Linked DNA regions of Homo sapiens: region 2 is linked to region 1. Evidence: promoter capture Hi-C in 16 types of primary human blood cells and fetal thymus (Javierre and others, 2016). All regions are on one chromosome and are shown on one strand. The core of a region is centred on a gene start or on the middle of the fragment in contact, and the rest is flanking DNA. Distances in the headings are between cores, read along the strand shown. Region 1 holds the start of ZNF462 (zinc finger protein 462). Region 2 has its middle 150 kb from the start of TMEM38B.

What was found. The method cuts DNA at HindIII sites, captures the fragments that hold promoters and counts their contacts. A CHiCAGO score of 5 or more calls a contact.
Region 2: a contact is called between a fragment that was not itself captured here and the fragment with the promoter of ZNF462 in region 1, in 2 of 17 cell types (endothelial precursors and megakaryocytes). The highest score is 10.8, in endothelial precursors.

Annotation. Positions count from the first base shown.
Region 1 is chr9:106,861,784-106,864,483 of GRCh38, reverse strand. It overlaps ZNF462 (zinc finger protein 462), which reads right to left and starts at 1,318. Exons shown (of 13, transcript NM_021224.6): 1 at 1,129-1,318. The HindIII fragment of the contact is 9,383 bases long and covers 1-2,652 here.
Region 2 is chr9:105,840,221-105,842,967 of GRCh38, reverse strand. No RefSeq gene overlaps it. Among named protein-coding and RNA genes, the nearest start is that of TMEM38B, 150 kb to the right of the region's middle. The HindIII fragment of the contact is 1,521 bases long and covers 617-2,137 here.

The DNA of each region.
Region 1 (2,700 bases), core at 69-2,568:
AAAGGGAAAGAGGGGCTGCTCCAATGGGGGGCGGCTGCGGCTTCCCCTCGTGCCTGGAAGGAGGGCAGACCCCTGGGAACTGCACCAGGAGTGAGACGCCCCCCCAGGCCCCTGCCTTCCTTTCTCCCTTCCTCAGAGGAGAGCCAAGCGTGTGTAATGGCTTCTCCTCTCCAGAAACCGTTGTCCTCCTCCACCAGACGCTTCTGAACCTCCAGCCTGGAGACAGCTCCTCAGCCGCTCCTGAACCTGCGCCCCCCACCCGGCCGGTGCCCCCCGCTCCTCGCCTCTCTGTTCACCAGCAGCACCGGCACCAGCAGCTGCAGCAGCCACCCCCCGACACATCCCGACCCCGCATCCCAACTTCGGGGAGAGGGAGAGAGAGAGAGAGAGAGAGAGAGAGAGAGAGAGAGAGAGAGAGAGAGAGAGAGAGAGAGAGAGAGAGAGCCAAATACCTGAGGAAGAGGGGGGCTGCCAATCCGCACGGCTTTGCCATCGGGCGGGGGACAGGCAGACAGAAGGGGGAAAGGAAGGAGAGGGACAGAGAAAGAAAGAGGTCAACCCGCTCAGGTCGGGGCCGCTCGCACGGAGCTCTCCCTCCTCTGACCCTCGCTCGCTCCCTCTGGCTCTCGGCTCAGGTCTCCGGCCTCCCGCCCTCCGCCCCCCTCTGTCCCTACTCCTGTCCCCACACTCGGAGCATCCGTCCTAAGCCTCCAGCTCTCTTCTCACTCATCTTTCATTTTCTCTTCTCTTCATAGAACTACACGAAATTAATTAAGCCACCGCGCTCACTCCCCCCAGCAGGAGCAGCAGCCAGCAGGAAAAGCACAGCCACCTCCACTGCCACCACTACCACCTTCTCCTCCTCTTCCTCCTCCTCCTCTTCCTCCCTCGCTTCTCCTCCTCCTCTTCCTCCTCCCCCTCCTGCTCTCCCTCCTCCCCCTCCTCCTCTTCTCTCTCGCTTCTTCTCCTCTTCCAACAGCCAGTCCATGCAGGGGACTTCCTCTCCTCCCCGCTCCTCCAACCCTCCTTGGCCGAATGAATGAGCGCGTTTGTGCCTCCACCACCCCGCGCTCTCTTCCCCGGAGCACTCGGACCACCCCGAGGTGGTTGTTAATTGCAGTAACTTACAGAAGAAGCGTCCCGGCGCCGGGAGGTGCTTCGGGTTCTCCAGCCCCACCGCCTCCTTATCCTCTTTCTCTTTCTCCTCTTCCTGCTCGGGTTATTGTTGTGGAAGTTGTTTGGGAGTCTCATGTGCTTCTGCCGGGTCTCAGCAATGGAGGATCGCCATCTTCCCTGCCTTCCTCGGCTCCTCAGACTCGCTGCAGCTGCAGATGACCTGAGATATCCGTCTCTCTCCCTCTCTCTCTCTCTCCCTCCCTCCCTCTCCCTCTCACTCTCTCTCTCCCCTCTCTCTCCTCTTCTCTCTCCTCTCCTCCCTCTCCCTCGCGCGCTCTCTCTCTCTCCCTCCCTCTGTGTCTCTCTCTGAATAATGAGCAACCAGGGGGAGAGAGAAAGCAAGACAGAAAGAGAGAAGGAAGACAATCTTCTCCTGCCACACAAAACGCCGGAGCACCAGGGGGTGCGCGAAGCCTTTCTAATAACAACAACAACGTGCAGCAGAGAGGAAGGAAAAAAAGAAAGAAAGAAAGAAATGAGGAAAAAGGCTAGGGGAAAAAAGAGGAAGAATTATCCAAGAGCTCGAGAAGAGCAGAAGGAGAAGCTGGAGGAGATGCTGAGGCTGCTGCTGCTGTTCCCCCTCCCCCCTGCTGAACCCCAGAAGGAGGCAAGGTGGTTGCAAAGTTAAGGCTGGGACATTGTCTTTGTCACTCAGAGCCAGGCCAGTGAGATGCAAGAGGAGGAGGTGGCGGCGGCAGAGGAGGAGGAGGTGGTGGTGGAGGAGGGGGAGGAAGAGGAGGAGAAGGAGGCAAAGGAGAAGGAGGCAAAGGAGAAGGAGAAGGGGAAGAGGGAGATGAGATGATGAATAAAGACCTGCGGAGAAGGCGGTGCGAGGAGCGCGGCCGCCGGGCCGAGGCGTGCGCGCTCGCGTCCCGGTGGCGCCCGGCAGCCCTGGCCCGCAGAGGAAGCCCCCGGTGAGGACCCTGCCCGGCAGCTCATAGCGCTCCCAACGTCAGCCCTGCCCGAGGCGCCGAGCCCGAGCCCCAGAGGGTCCCTTACTTGCATCCATCTAGAGGCCAACCTTTGCAAAGAACATACGTGGGGAACTGGAGGTTGCAAGTATAAACCCAGATCAACCACGTGGGGCTTTTTAATCCCTTTCCAGCTTGCGGTGTGAGTATTTCCAGTGAAAAGCTCAAATTGTCCATTACTGGCACGTATTTTGAAGTCTTCTCTCCTGAAATAAAGGCTCATTGTGCGTTTTATTTCTTTCCTGATATGGAAGGTGGGGGGGTGGAGGAGGAAAAGAGCCCATCATTCCGAGCTTCGGAACCACCACTTTCTTTTCCTAACTTGTGAAATGTTTTGACTGCGCACCAAAAGAAAAAAAGAACGCCTGCTTAAATAACTTTACACCCTCCAGCCCCGCGTTGTTTGCACTTTCTGGCTGATCATCTAAAGGCTCGGAAAGTAACAATCAGCGCTCTTAATGATAAGGTGTCATGGTGTTGAAGACACGCGAGCCAAGATGAAGCTTTCACACCTTGAATTTTTATTTAGTGTAATCTCTCCCGTATCATTCTG
Region 2 (2,747 bases), core at 128-2,627, 1.0 Mb after region 1:
CTTCTGCCTCACTCTCCCGAGTAGCTGGGATTACAGGCACCCGCTACTATGCCCGGCTAATATTTTGTATTTTTCAGTAGAGACAGGGTTTCACCATGTTAGCCACGCTGGTCTCGAACTCCTAACCTCAGGGGATCCTCTCACCTCGGCCTCCCAAAGTGCTGGGATTATAGGCATGAGCCATCAAGCCTGGCCCAAATTTTATAATTTTATATTTACATACATTTATATACATTTATAACTTATATTTTATATAAACTCTATCTAAAATTCTATATATTTTTAAGCAACATGCATTTTTTACAATGACAAAGGAATATTTTTAAAGGGCATTATACAGTTATTAGAACAGTGGTTTAGAACTCTGTCCCATGAAGACCTGAGGTTTGGCAGAGGTGGCTCAAGGACAAAGAAGGAAGATGAGTGAATTAACTCCCAGTGTCCCTGCCCTACTTCAGAAAAAGTTCTGCCACTTTTATCTACTTTCTATACTTGGGGTTCTATGTAAGGTTTCGGCTGGAAAATGAGCACCAGAGCCTAAAAACTGTTTGAAACACCCTCTATTAGAGAATTCATATTTGGCGTATTCCGGGTTTCTGTGATTTATAAATAAGCTTTGTTGTTTATTTAATAAACACTAAAGAGTTGGCTGCTTCTAACAATCAGAATTTATTTTATTAATTCTCTCTGAGAATGTTTGTCCTCGTTGATTGCATCACAGGTTTCTCCTGCCACCTGGTGGCAACATATGTCTATTGCAGGGGCAATTTCTAAATTTATCTGGTATCTGCTGAAGTTGCAAATACAACTCACAAGGCAATGAAGATTTGGAGAGGGCTTTTTTACATCCATTACAAGCTACAAGGCACTTCTACATCAATTATGAATTATGTCATTTGGTCTTCCCACCCTCCCTTTCAGGTGGGTATTCATATTCTCTCCCATTTTCAGGAGAGGAAAAAGTAGCTCAAAAGCTAAGTAACAAAACAAAAAAAGCTGAGTAACTTACCTCAGATGAAGGCCAGAAAATTATGGGACTCAAACTTAGTTGCAATCTTGTAATGGTTATCAGAGACTGATAGCTTTGTGACAATCTAAAGAGGTTTAAATCTGGAGAGATCGTTGGGCTAGAGGTATAAAATTGACAGTCATCAGAACAGAGGTGATATTTGAAGGCATAGACTGATCAAAACTTGAAGCCATGGGAAATGGCACAAATGGGTGTCAAACCAAGGTGTTGTGAGCTGGTGGCAGCAGATGAGAGGAAGATAAGTGTTTGGTTTACCAGGAAGCTCACATGTGGCCATCTAAAATTGCAATCTGAAGAATGGAAATCTTTGTCCATTGCATGAAAATACATAGTTCAAAGAAGAAGGAAGAAAAGTAGACATAACAGCTCCATCCACACAGTGCAGATCAAACCTGAAATTCAGTGCCCTACTTGTTATGGGAAGCAGATGTGAAAGCAAAAAAATAACAAAGCGTGAATATCCACAGCTTCTTTCCCTGCTTACCCCTTACTCCCAAAAGGATTCTTTCTTGCCAAATTATCCAACTGTCCCTAAACATTTTTTGTGAGTAGTGGGGTAATTAATAAGGAAGATAATACGAGATGAGGAAGAAGATGTCAGAATTTAAAACAGAAAGGGAAAGAACTAAGGATGCAAGGAGAAGAATGTGTGCAGAAAAAGGAAAGTGGGACAGACATGAAGAGAGCCCTTACAGGCTGGGTTTAGAAAAGAGTATTTTGGAGTTTATAGTAGGAGAGAAATGAGGCTTTGGTATTGCAGCCTTGTACAGAAGATGGGTGGATGGAGAGACAGCAAACAGAACTGGGCCCAGCCTCAGGTAGGTCATCAGGCAGAGAAGAGCAGATCATAGAAGCAAGAGATTGGAGCCTGGAGCAAGTCTCAAATCAAGGCAGATGACAAGAGGTGCAAAAAAGGGCCATAAGGCAAAACTCCTGAGAAAAAGCCCAAGACCAGCTTGATTCTGGGGCAAAATCTGTGCCATCCATGATTTACCTGCAGAAACAGAAACCAGACCCTCAGATGGATGGGTCCCTGCCCAAAGATGCCTGAGAAATAGGTCCCCATCCCACTGGATAAAGGAGAGAAGGGAGAGGCTGAATAAAGCTTCCAACACATTCAGGTGCAATTGACAAAACTCTGTCCAGGGCTAAAGGCCCAGCTCTGCCATTTTCTAACTGTTAACCTTAAAAACTCCCCTGGCCTCCAAGATTTCCACACCATCCTCTGCACACACAATGAGTGGAAGTAGCTGGGTGATGTTGAAGGCTCTTCCAGCTCTGACCCTCTGCCTCAGAGTCTCAAAGCATCCCAACTGGTTGCAGGCAAACTAGCTGTCTCCTTCCCCTAGAACAGGTTGGGACTGAGAAAAGCAGGTCTTCCTTTAAGGCTGTGGCTGTTGCTAAGAAGAGTCCCTCCCCACACCCAACCCTATCCTGCAACTTTCATCATCACCATGCGCTTCATGATCGCCTCCCACCTAGTTTGGAGACATAAACTCCAGCACACTCTTTCATGCACCAAGCTCCAAACACATCCTATTCATCTGAGTTCCCCTTGCTCAGCTCAGGGCCTTTGCCCCTACCCAGTCCTCTGTCCACATGGAATGTCACCTGCCAAAAACTCATTCTTTATGCTTCTCAGTAGATTCTATGACAGGAAGGTGCCAGCTCCTTGCTTTCTCAGGCTACCATCTCTGATTCCTTAGAATCCTAGAAT